Linked DNA regions of Homo sapiens: region 2 is linked to region 1. The links are contacts of gene promoters, found by promoter capture Hi-C in blood cells and fetal thymus (Javierre and others, 2016). All regions are on one chromosome and are shown on one strand. Each heading gives the region's core, a stretch centred on a gene start or on the middle of the fragment in contact. The rest is flanking DNA. Distances are from core to core; before and after follow the strand shown. Region 1 holds the start of FSIP2-AS1 (FSIP2 antisense RNA 1). Region 2 has its middle 170 kb from the start of LINC01473.

Region 1 (7,108 bases), core at 1,202-3,701:
TTATTTTATTTAGAAATAGTGTCTCTGTCACTGAGGCTAGAGTACAGTGGCATGATCATTGCTTCCTGCAGCCTTGAACTCCTGGACTGAAGACATCCTCCCATCTCAGCCTTCCCCCAAAATAGCTGGGACCACAGGCATGCCACTGCACTCTAATTTTTAAAAATCTTTTTGTAGAGACAGGGTTTTGCTATGTTGCGCAGGCTGGTCTCAAACTCCTGGCCTCATGTGATCCTTCTTTCTCGGCCCCTCAAAGTGTTGGGATTACTGGCATGAGCCACTGTGCTCAGCCTCAATTGCTTTTTAATTCATCACAATGCAAAAAAATAAAAATAAATAAATGTTTTCAGGATTTGAATTTGAAGGATGTGTTGCTCAGTTTTCTCTATCTACAAATGAGAGAAAATGAGGCCATTTTAAAGCAGGAGATTTTGGTTGAGCATGAGGCATAAATTTGGAAGGGTTTTTAAAATTCTTATGCATAACTTCTTTATAATCATATGGGATGTGCAGTTAACTGATTAAAAGTCATTTAATTTTTGTATTCTTGAAGGCTTTGTTATTATTATTCAAAGTTTAAAAGAACAGTAGAATTGAATATCTTGTTTTATTTGCATTCCAGTATTCTGACTTAAATTCCTTTTAGATATAATACTCCAACTGTATCATTACAGGGATTATATTTGCATTATCTTTCTAAGTATACTCATGTGTATATATTAGGTGAAACAACATGTAATCGTCATTTTGTATATCAAAAACAGTTGATTATTGACAATTAATAAAATTCAGTTTAGTATTACTATAATACCCCAGATCTAGGTCAGTAGTTTCAGTTACCAATAATTACTTGCTACATCACCAGTCCAGATACATCACACATCATTCTAATTGGAGATATTAGCAGTCCTACCCACCTGCACGAGGAGGTTATTTTCCATCCTTAAAACCAGTATTCTCCCAAGATGGACGGTAATGTAGCTACAACTACAAACTCTTAAATAGACTTACTCCAGGCATGACTTAATTGATTTCAGAAAAATAAACAAAAGCAAAACAAGCAAGAGAAGATCCATGATTTCATCACATTGACACTTGGCTCTAACAATTCTATATTCCTATTCTCAGACATCTCCAAGGTCTTCCAGTGACTTCGCTCATGTTCCTTCTTCCACTAGGAATACCTTTTCCTCATTCCCTGTATCTTGACATGGCCAAAACCTGTGTAGCAGTCAAAGCTCAGCTTAAAGTCTTCTATCTGTGTAGAGTCTTGCCTGATAACACATGAAGATATATAATATATAATTAAGTTCTGAGGAAAAAAACTGTGTTGCTCTTGGCTGCCACACCCAGCAGTTGGCCATTGCAAATAGGTAATGATTTGTAACAAATAGAATTTTGGACAAAACAAATATAGAGTTCTTCACCTGGCTGGGCCAACCTTCCTTCTTTGTGACAAACTATAATCTAGGGACTAAAGTACTACTGCTATTGCAATCTATTACTAGCTTTTCTGGAGTTGCCACACTTTTATTTTAGTCAACTTGATATTGCAACACAACTCCTTAATGTCCTAAAAGTAAAACATAGCATAACATTAAATGTTTTGTCTAAAGCTATTTTAAAATAATTATATGGCACCTCTAGGTATCACTGGAGACATGGTAGGATGCATCGCTAAGCCTGGAAATTATTTCTCTGCCCCAAGCTTTCCAGCTTCTTAAGAGTTCATAACCATCCAACCAAGGCAGACATCAGCATTTGACTTAGAGGATTGAATTTTGGGGTGTTATTTTCTCAATTTATTGGCTAAAATTAAGATTTTGCAAGGTGAGAAAATAAATGTTTGAGGAAAATCTAATTTCTTTTTTTGTTTAGATTTTTCTTTAGTGAGTTGCTCAAAGGGTGAAATATATATGTAAATAATAATTTCAAATATATTGAATTTTCTATATTTTCTTTAATCCATGCTAAAATTACAATGTTTCCTTTTTTAAGTTTTTAGTGAGGAAAAGATGTCTGTTTCTACATGGTCAAGGAAAAAATATGAATCAAAACAGTTCCTAAGAAACATATACGATGATTCTTCAATTTATCAATGTTGTGAACATCTCACTGAGTCAGTACTTTACCATTTAACTTCGAGCATTTCTGATGGCACCAAAAAGGGTAGAGAAAAAGAGAAAGCATGGGAAATTCAAGAAGCAACATTTAGCAAGATTATTTCAATTCATTCTCAAGTGTTTGAGAGCAGGTCAATTTCCATTGGAGAACTTGCTTTATGTATTTCTGAAATCATTATTAAAATTCTTTTTAATAATAAAATTATACAGGCTGACATTGCACAGAAAATGGTTGCCATACCTACAAAATACACTTACTGTCCAGGAATAGTTTCTGGTGGCTTTGATGACCTCTTTCAGGATCTCTTAGTAGGAGTGATTCATGTACTGTCCAAAGAAATAGAAGTAGATTATCACTTTGAAAGCAATGTAAGAAACAAATCATTTTCTATGCATAGAAATAATAGTGTACCCCTTTGCAACAAAATCAATAGACAGGCAAGCCCCAGAGACTGGCAATTTTCTACTCAACAAATTGGTCAACTTTTTCAAAAAAATAAGTTAAGTTATCTTGCATGTAAGTTAAACAGCCTGGTTGGTAACCTAAAAACAAGTGAATCCAAAGAAGTAGTCAATAAAGTTTTTAATATTGTTTCAGATTTATTTTCACCAGATGAATGCCTAGATACGGGTATGGATTCTGGTAAAATACAAAGAACATATTTCTACTCCTCGAATAATGAGCAACCTAATAGCATACTTACCAATAACCTACAGCTCTCCTCAAAATCAGTTTTTCTTCTCAATGTTGTATGTGAGAAACTTATCAGAATACTTTTGGAAGAATGCACAAGCACTGCTTTTCCTGATAAAGGGTCTGTTTCAGAGGAAACATCAGCAGAAGAATGTCAACTTTTAAAAATGCTTCAAAGTGTAGAAGATGGAAAATCTGATTATCGTAAGGGAGGAATGGACTGTGAATGCCTTCAAGTAGATTACATGTCAGACCTTTTGGAGAATGTGGCAGAAATTGATCAAGACTTATTGACATCAGACTCTATGCTTACTATTATTTCCCACAGCTTGGTTAAATCATTGATGGACAAATTATCTCACAGCATACAACAAGCTCCGGAAAGTCTACCTTTTGCAAATAAGCATTTGAACTACAGAACAAGAGAAATACAGTCTAGTTTCATAAAAGCAAGAAAGTCAGAATTAATAGAATTAGGACAGAGTAAAAGTTCTTTAGAACTCAGGAGCTATGATAGTAATTCTTTGACAGTATCCCTGAATAATCCCAGTGTGGTTAGCTCCAAAATACAAGCACCATTTAACAAGCATTGTGCAGTAAAATCCTCTTCTGTGTCACCTTTTGAAAGACAGAGAACAAAGGAAATGGATAAGGTAGCCATTCATAATAAGCTACATCAGGAAGGTATATATGCTGGTGTTTATTCAGCCACATTTTTGGAAGGAATAATTTCAGAATTGTTTTTTAATCTCTCTATGTCATTGTGGGGCAAAAATAAAAACATCACTGTGTCCTGGCTCAATGAGATGAATACATTATTTGTCAACAATGTAGTGAATGAATTTAATAATGCTCAAGTCACTGTTCTACGGAATGCTGAAGAAAGGCTGTGTTTTCCACCAGTTCATACAGAAACTGTTAGCAAAATTGTTGACTCAGTTTATTATGATGTTTTACAGCAGTATGAATTAAAAGTGGCCTGTGGTAATAATCCGGTATACGACAATGCCTCAATAGCAGAACAAATAACAAATGGCATATTGTTAGAGATTTTAGACTACAAACTGCCATCTTGCTTCAAGGAACATCTCATACCCCATTCATATTACCCTCTCAAACCTGAAATTATATTGCAAAAGCTTCAAAGTAACCTAACAGAATTTACTTCTCTACCCAGGTCTTCATCAGACTATAGTACCATGTTATCACATTCATTTTTAGAAGATGTCATAAGAAGGCTTTTATCTCAGCTAATTCCTCCACCCATTACATGTTCCTCTTTAGGAAAAAAATATTTAATGAGTTCTGATTTTAATGAAATGTCCACTTGTATAATAAATAAGGTTATGTCAGCCATTTCAAAACATAAAATCTGGTTCACTATATATGATAATCAATATCTATATACTGGAAAAAACCTCCAAAAGATGGTGGATTCTGTATATTGTAATATTTTGCAAATGTCTGACTCTCTTGTTTCAATACAAAAAAGTATAGTAAGCCGAAGCCCAATTATGATTGACCAAATAGCCAGCTTTATCATCCAAGAGATTATCGAAAATCATCTTCAACCATTTTTGAGTGGAGAGGTTTTATGTCATCCAAGGACTCCACTGGATCCAGTGTCTACTATTGTTACACAGGTTCTGAGTGAAGTGATAGAGTCACACAGACCTCAGAAGCAATCACCTTTAGATATTCACCTTGATTCATTTGTAAGGGAGATTGTTGCCAGACTTTTGTCAAAGATTTTCAGCCCAAAGCATAACACTGAAATTGAGTTGAAAAACATGACCCAAAGAATAGTAAACTCCATAAATAGGCATTTCAATAAAGCTAAAATTCACATTCTCTATGATGACAAAGAACAGGCTTTCTTTTCTTTCAATACAGATATTGTGGATGAACTTGCCACCTCAGTTTATAGAAATGCTTTAAAGCAGCATGGGCTAGACCTTGCTGTTGATAAAGAGTCTGAAGACAGTGGCATTTTTGTGGAAAATATTACCAATTTAATTGTAGCAGCTATTTCAGATTACCTTCTTCATCCACTGTTTTCTGGGGATTTTTCAGCTTCTACCTATTCTAATTCAGTGGCTGAGAATATTGTTCAGGACATCCTTAGTAACATCAGTAAATCTACTGAGCCAAGCCAGAGTGTACCTCTATATAACACCTTGCTGCCATACACATTTTTAGAAGATATGATCAGAGTACTATTATCTAAATTATTTTCTTCTGCATCTAGCCTGGTTCTAAACAGAGACACCCAAAAAGATATATCAAGAGTGAATTTCAATGACATTGCTTCAAACCTAGTTAGTGATATTAGGATGAAAGTTTCCCAACATGAAATTCGATTTTCAAAAGAGGAAGAAGAAACCAAGTTTATTTATTCAGAAGATGATATTCAGCACCTTGTTGATTCAGTATTTGCAAATGTTGTGCAAACCTCTGGTTCTCAAGAATCAGCTGTGCAAAATATCACAAGCAGTAATGACATTCTTATAGATAGAATAGCAGGTTTCATCATTAAACATATCTGTCAAAAACATCTTCAGCCATTTGTGAGTGGAAAATCATTATCTTCATCAGACACATATTTTGATGATGAGAGAAGGCAGTTATTTTATACCAGTGTTTACTCTTCAACATTCTTGGAAGATGTAATCTCTGGGGTTTTAAGAAAAATATTCCACAGGGTAGTAGGCATTGTACAAACAAAATCCATAAGAGATTCAGAAGATGAACTGTTTGAGAAAGCTGAAGAACTCATACATTTGATTACAGGGGAATTCTCAAAAGCCCAAGTTAGCATTATAGATAATACTGAGGAAAGACTGTGTTTACCTCCAGTGGAGAGGGATGTAGTCAAAACAATTGTTGACATGGTGTACAGCAAAGTTTTGCAAGAATATGAAATGGAAGTCGTGCCCAATAAAGATTTTCTAAATGACACAAAGACATTGGCTGCAAGAATAACTAATATCATCCTGGCTGAAATTTTTGATTTCCAAATTCATCCAGATCTTATAGCAAATCTGCCTTTTAAATCACATTCCAAACTCAGTGCAAATGTTTTAATACAAAGAGTTCAATATGATATAAGTAAATCAAGATTCCAAAGACAAGCTTCAACAATGTATACCACTATGTTATCACATAGTCATTTGGAAAAAATAGTTACTCAGCTTACATCTCAGATAAGTCCATTGAACACCAGTGCAGAGCAGTCAGATACTACTAAATCAGACTTAAGTAATACAGTGATAAAACTGATAAATGAAATTATGTCAATAATTTCAAAACATGAAATATGTATTATTAAATATGGGAATAAAAAACAGAGTATGATTTCAGCAAAAGATATCCAGTCTATGGTTGATTCCATTTATGCTGATCTTTCTCATTCAAATATATACCAGTCCATTACAAAAGATAAAAAGAGCATAAGTGACATACCTGTTTCAAAAATAGCGAGTTTTATAATAAAAGAAATCTTTAACCATCATATTCAATCATTTTTATCTGAAGATAAAACTCTCCTTTTGGCAGCAGTTGATCAAACTTATAAATTGAAAGCAATAGATCCTAAACAAAGAGAATTATCTTTTATTGTGAACTCATCTGTCTTTTTGGAGGAAGTAATTTCTGAGCTCTTATGCAAAATTCTTTATGCATTTTCACATAACATGTTGGTTACTGAAAATCCAGATAGAGTGAAACTGAAACTTACCAGGATTGTTACAACATTGGTAAATTCAATTGTTCTGGAGTTCACCACATCAGAGATTTTAGTTGCAGATAACTTTGATAAAAATTTGTGTTTCTCAGAAAGATACAAAGAAATGGTTCAAAAAATAGTCAACTCAGTATATGGAAAAGTATTAGATCAATATAAATCTCTGATTCAAATACATAGGGTTATACAAAGTGACACAATATGTTTTGGTAGGAAAATATATTATTTGCTATTGGAAGAAATATATGATTATCAAGTGCAGTCATTAGTTTCAGGAGAATTAGAGTCTTCTTCTTATTCGTATCCCCAAGCTGATAATATCATCAGAAATGTGCTTAACATAATCACAAAGGATAGCCATGCCTTGCCACCATATATTACTGTGTTGCCTCATTCTCTTTTAGAAGATATGGTTTACAGGCTTCTAGGGCATGTCTTCCCTTCAACTCACACTGAAAATGAACTAAAAGAGAAAAAGTTTCCACCGGATGATGAATTTGTGGAGGCAGCTTCAAAATTGACTGATGAAATTATAAAAGAAATTTCTGA
Region 2 (6,813 bases), core at 4,275-6,774, 450 kb after region 1:
AAATATATGGTCATCATCTCTCTCTCACACATTTTTAAGCCCAAAGAGAATGATTTCTAAAAATCTCTAGCCATGAGACAAATAAGGCAGAAGTGCAGAAAAGAAATAAAAAATATTTATAAAGCATGGAAAATATTTTGATACATCACAAATAGTTACTTTTCAATTTGTCCAAGGGCCAAAATATTTTTTGTAAAAATACATGCACACCCTTTGTTACAATTTGCGAGTTGAACTAAGTATTATATATAAAATAACATCCAAAATATTTAAATTACTTTTAATGAGTCATTCATTGTTCACTTGGTAATGAACATGACTAAAAGGTGATTTCTTTTGGAATTGCCTCATTCTCCTAGGCAAAACATTAGAGATTTTTTCATAGTTCTTCGTTTCTACTAAGTTAAACTTATTTAGAGCCAGGCAAAAAGTGCTGAGAGAACAAAATGTTTCCCCAGTCAGTTGAAAATGTAAGCGCTTGAGTGGTTATTGCGTGAAATAAAACAACAAAAAAAGGAGTATATTGTGATTGGGGAGATGTTAAGGAGTCAAATAAATAATACTTGTTTCTTCCCCTCCTAGGTCTGAAAGCAACTGAGAGATAGACTCAAGTTGCACTCAAAATATCTAGTGAAAAAGATAGGAAAATATGGTTTTGACTTGCACTTTCAGTTAGACCCCCTAATATTTCACCCTGAATAAGACAGACATATCTTGAGGCAAAGGCAGTACTGGGATGTTTTGGGTTTCACCCCCAAAGTCAGGCAGCAAGATCCAAATTCAAGCACCCTGCAGTGGTCAAGCTGAAGAACACAAGAAGCAGAGTGAGAAAAGGAATCAATTGCCCAGTTCTTCTTTTGAAACATAACAAGTAAGTCTCTCTTCCTCGGAGGAATGAATGAAATGGGGAGAAAGAAATGAAGATTAAGCTCCATGAAGTTCCTCCATGTGGAAGCAAAGGCCAGGGATACAGAGGTTTCCCTCTAACAAAATGATGTGTGCAGCCAGGTGCAGTGGCTCATGTCTGTAATCTCGGCACTTTGTGAGGCCAAGGTGGGAGGATCACTTGAGCCCAGGAGTTTGAGACCACTCTGGACAACATGGCGAAACCCTGTCTCTACAAAAAAATACAATAAAATTAGCCAGGAGTGGTGGTGCACACCTGTGGTCCCAGCTACTCGGGAGGCTGAGGTGGGAAGGCTGCTGGAGCCCAGGAAGTTGAGACTCCAGTGAGCCATGATCTGCCACTGAACTCCAGCCTGGATGACAGAGCAAGATCCTGTAAAAAAAAAAAAAAAAAAATAGATAAAAGAAAAGATGTGTGCTTCAATGTTCTTTATAATTTATATTTTACTATTAAGGAAATTCCTAGGAAACACCAACTTACACTAAAATTTGATATTTAAGTAGTTTTAATTTTTATTTCCAGACAAAATTTGGAAAATAATTTTACAAAGGAAATAAATGTTAGTCTACGTGTGTATATATTTTTGTTCTTCTAAGAAACCATTGGCAGAAAGTAAATTCAAGAACTTTCATTGAAACTCCTATAGACTATGAACATAAGAAAATAGCCATATGATTATGAAAAATAATTAAATGTGAAAACAGTATAGATTATATTTCCACAACCATCTGAATGTGGTAGAGAATAGAACTGATAGAATCAAATAAAAATTCCAGAAGATGTAGAATATTTGGCCAGGCCTTAAAATTATAGAGTTTTCAGTAAAGAGTAAAATAAGCTACTTTTGAGAGGAATGTGACCGTATTTACATAGACAGTAATGCTCATGCCTGTAGTACTACCACAGTGGACAAAATTCTGAATAACCTCTTTTGTATTGTTTAACAAATGGTGGTCTAATTTCCATTTCTGGTCCTACAAAGTCTCTCTTCATGTGACAGTTAAACATCAAGAAACTGTAATAGTCCCTGAAACATTGAAGGACACTTTCTGTAAGTGCCAGAATTACTAATGTTTTATGGCCATCATAACACCTTAAGTAGACTCTAGTTTGATTAAATTGGTTCTGTGACTTACCACAGCAATTAACTTAAAGCTAAGTATGATTTTAAGAATAACCTTCTGACTGAATATTGATAACAGGTTTTGAAAATTCAAATTTTTATCAATATTTGGTAAGTAAAATATATTTAAAATCATCCATGCTTGTAATTGTAATTAAATTGGGATAAACTATCCAAATTTCTCAAAATATGGCATTTTGTATAATCTTCATCCCAGGCTTCATCTAAGCATCAAAATAACTAAATTTTGTTGAGCACTAAAGGAAAAATATATTTTGTTAGAGTCTGTTTTTTAGATCCACACTTTTTTACTCCATTAAAGTAATTTCTTCTCAATTGTTGCAATTATTTTGACAAAAATTTGTATTGTATTATAATCACCCAAAGTCATTTCAATATATCAGCTGCTAACAAAAGTTAACGATAATTTAGTATGCACAACTGAACAGTAACAAGTACTGTGTGGTCACTTATTAAAATTACTTCAACATAGTCCTGCTTATGTAACTATGACATAATATTAGAATTATCCCTATAGCAGAAAGTAAGATAAATATCAAATTTCACATTGAAGTTAAAAACTTGTTTTCTACTTCTTAATTTCATTTTTATATCAGGATTGTTCCCTCATTCAGAGAATGATGTTATTTTGTTGCTATAGTAATTAGGAGAGGGTATTAGATTAATAGAGTTCCATTTTCAGTAATACTCCAAAAATGTCTCCACATTTTGTACTCTAATATCTCCTTCAGTTCCAAGAAGACACTGTTCAAACTGTATCCTTGATATAGAGGAAAAAACATTAGCTTTATCAATTTATAATCCATGATGGTTCCAGGAGATTCCATTTCAGAGCGAATTTTATCTCAAATTTGATCCCAGCAATATTGGAGCTATATACTATTGAACACACATATAAAATTAAATTACCAGTTTAATTTAATTGATTAGAAACATATATTCTTCTCCTATTGCAAAACATAATAAAAACAATTATTTTCTCTTCAGCAGTATCAAATTGGAATTAATATAAAATTCTTCAACCCAAAGCAATCATAATAGATTATAATTAATAGATCTGAATACAGTATGATGTATACTCTAAAGAGAATTTCTACTAATAGAAATTGGTTTGCATTTAATCAATCAAAAGTTATAAGTTATCTGACTTAACCAGAATTACCTAATACCATTCCTTCCTGAGCCCTGCCTCTTAACATCTGTCTCTTTCTAGAAATCACCTTTGGCTGTTCCTACTTTTCAAACCTTATCAAGTTTTCAAGACCCAGTTCAAGACCCATATCACCCATGAAGTTATCCCTGGTCTCCTCAGTCTAAGTAAGCTTTCTTTCTCCCCTGAAAGCATACAGATCCAATTATATAATTCACCTAGCTTTATCTTCTTTTTTCTTGAATTATTAGTTATATTTTCATAGATCTCTAGACACATAAATATATAGAGATATGGTTTGCTTCCCCAATTAGACCAAACACTCTGTAAGGAATCAGACTTCTTATCCAAGATTATCTACTCTATGGACAGAATGAAGCAATAAGAGGAATTATATACTCTATAAACTTTCAAGATAGAAATAAACACAGTTTTGCATTGATGTTCATCAGGAATATTGGTCTAAAATTCTCTTTTTTTTGTTGTGTCTCTGCCAGGCTTTGGTATCAAGATGATGCTGACCTCATAAAATGAATGAGGGAGGATTCCCTCTTTTTCTATTGATTGGAATAGTTTCAGAAGGAATGGTACCAGCTCCTCCTTGTACCTCTGGTAGAATTCGGCTGTGAATCCATCTGGTCCTGGATTTTTTTTGGTTGGTAAGCTATTAATTATTGCCTCAATTTCAGAGCCTGTTATTGTTCTATTCAGAGATTCAACTTCTTCCTGGTTTAGTCTTGGGAGGGTGTATGCGTTGAGAAATTTATCCATTCAAACTATACTACAAGGCTACAGTAACCAAAACAGCATGGTACTGGTACCAAAATAGAGATATAGACCAATGGAACAGAACAGAGCCCTCAGAAATAATGCCACATATCTACAACCATCTGATCTTTGACAAACCTGAGAAAAACAAGCAATGGGGAAATGACTCCCTATTTAACAAATAGTGCTGGGAAAACTGGCTAGCCATATGTGGAAAGCTGAAACTGGATCCCTTCCTTACACCTTATACAAAAATTCATTCAAGATGGATTAAAGACTTAAATGTTAGACCTAAAACCATAAAAACCCTAGAAGAACACCTAGCCAATACCATTCAGGACATAGGCATGGGCAAGGACTTCATGTCTAAAACACCAAAAGCAATGGCAACAAAAGTCAAAATTGACAAATGGGATCTAATTGAACTAAAGAGCAGAATTCTGCACAGCAAAAGAAACTACCATCAGAGTGAACAGGCAACCTACAAAATGGGAGAAAATTTTTGCAATCTACTCACCTGTCAAAGGGCTAATATCCAGAATCTACAATGAACTCAAACAAATTTACAAGAAAAAAACAACCCCATCAAAAAGTGGGTGAAGGATATGAACAGACACTTCTCAAAAGAAGACATTTATGCAGCCAAAAGACACATGAAAAAATGCTCATCAGAACTGGCCCTCAGAGAAATGCAAATCAAAACCACAATGAGATACCATCTCACACCAGTTAGAATGGCAATCATTAAAAAGTCAGGAAACAACAGGTGCTGGAGAGGATGTGGAGAAATAGGAACACTTTTACACTGTTGGTGGGACTGTAAACTAGTTCAACCATTGTGGAAGTCAGTGTGGCGATTCCTCAGGGATCTAGAACTAGAAATACCATTTGACCCAGCAATCCCATTACTGGGTATATGCCCAAAGGATTATAAATCATGCTGCTATAAAGACACATGCACACGTATGTTTATTGCGGCACTATTCACAATAGCGAAGACTTGGAACCTAGCCAAATGTCCAACAATGATAGACTGGATTAAGAAAATGTGGCACATATACACCATGGAATACTATGCAGCCATAAAAAATGATGAGTTCATGTCCTTTGTAGGGACATGGATGAAGCTAGAAACCATTATTCTCAGCAAACTCTCACAAGGACAAAAAACCAAACACTGCATGTTCTCACTCATAGGTGGGAATTGAACAATGAGGACACATGGACACAGGAAGGGGAACATCACACACTGGGGACTGTTGTGGGGTGGCGCGAGGGATAGCATTAGGAGATATACCTAATGTTAAATGATGAGTTAATGGGTGCAGCACACCAACATGGCACATGTATACATATGTAACTAATCTGCACATTGTGCACATGTACCGTAAAACTTAAAGTATAATAAAAAAAAGAAATAAACACAGTTTATAAGATGAGGACTTGTCCTATCATGTATCCATCACTAAGTTATTTTACTTGATACAAAGGTGACCAATAAATATTTGTTTAACAATCTACTTATTCAAAATGGCACTCATCTTTTAATGTATAAATTTCCTAAGAAATAAGGTATTCTGACTTGGTTTTTTCCTGCCATACATGTATGTTATACATCACTACAGCAAGTGGCTCAAGTGGACTGCCTAATAGTCTTATCATCTGAAAATCTCTGATTGTCACTAAAAAAACTACTGCATTGGAGTAATAAGTAATTCATCACCTCTAATCTCAATTAAGTAATCTAAATAGACTCTCAAGTTGTTGTTGGAATCAATAAGCCATAAAAATAATAACATGGATATTTACCTTAAGTTGTTTCTATTTTGTTTTACAGTAAAAATTCTTTGTAGAAATACATGTTAGAATTCATTGTTTAAAGTTCATCTTTAAACTGATCAAGTATCTACTTGTTACATTAGGTCCCAAGTAATATACTGTAAGCATATATAGGTCAATACACTTTGTAAATTTCTGCAGCCAAAATATTCACTCTAATCCAAGCCTTTCAAATGGATTCTATTGCTCACAAATCTAGAAAAGACAAGAAATCAAATTTCTTTTCTTCTTAAATGACATCACAACTCAAAGACCTCTACGTTCTAATAATTCTTCACTAACAATTTTCTTCTTTTTCTAAGAATAAGAAATTATATACCAAAGAAAGATTCAAAGTTCCCTGCTTCTTCTAAATATTCAAGACAAATAAAAATATGCAAGATGAATGGAAAAAATAAAATCAATACCAAGATTTAATAGTATCAATTCATTCAGTCCGTATTGGTAGGTAAGGAAGGACTGTGAAAACCTCTTTCCACTTGCTCTTAACTCTCAGCAGAAAATGGAAACAAATTTTACAATAGAGACGTAACCACAACCAAATGTATTTTATATATTTCAGAGAAGCAATATGGAATAGTTGGGTTAAATGTGTCTCTGATGTCAGACTTTCCGGGTTTGAATGCCAGCTCTGCCTCTCTTTAGCACAGTAATGCTGGATAATTTACTAACCCTATCTGTGTTTCAATTTCCTCATATGTAAGATAGGAATAATAACAGAACCTGCCTCATAGATATGTTAGGAGGAGGTACTCCATGTAAATCACTTGGCATAGTACCTGGTACATATTAAGCAACACTTGATAAGCATTAGCTAAATGTAAATTGCAATTGCCTTTTAAGTTTTAATATCCCTATTTAAAAAAAAATAGTTGATTGCTTTTACTAACTAAGCCAGAAAAGGGAGTACTTTTTAAAAATTTAAAAACCTATCATTTTCTCTCAATGAATCAATACATGGACAAAAGGTAGATGTCAAAATGAACCTAAATGAGGAGAAGGGCA

Evidence for each region. The method cuts DNA at HindIII sites, captures the fragments that hold promoters and counts their contacts. A CHiCAGO score of 5 or more calls a contact.
Region 2: a fragment that was not itself captured here is called in contact with the fragment with the promoter of FSIP2-AS1 in region 1 in 2 of 17 cell types (M1 macrophages and erythroblasts); the score reaches 5.8 in M1 macrophages.

Annotation. Positions count from the first base shown.
Region 1 is chr2:185,797,699-185,804,806 of GRCh38, forward strand. FSIP2-AS1 (FSIP2 antisense RNA 1) reads right to left here and starts at 2,452. Exons shown (of 3, transcript NR_144453.1): 1 at 2,382-2,452. FSIP2 (fibrous sheath interacting protein 2) reads left to right here. Exons shown (of 23, transcript NM_173651.4): 17 at 1,999-7,108. The HindIII fragment of the contact is 2,248 bases long and covers 1,707-3,954 here.
Region 2 is chr2:186,248,454-186,255,266 of GRCh38, forward strand. No RefSeq gene overlaps it. Among named protein-coding and RNA genes, the nearest start is that of LINC01473, 170 kb to the left of the region's middle. The HindIII fragment of the contact is 4,307 bases long and covers 3,372-6,813 here.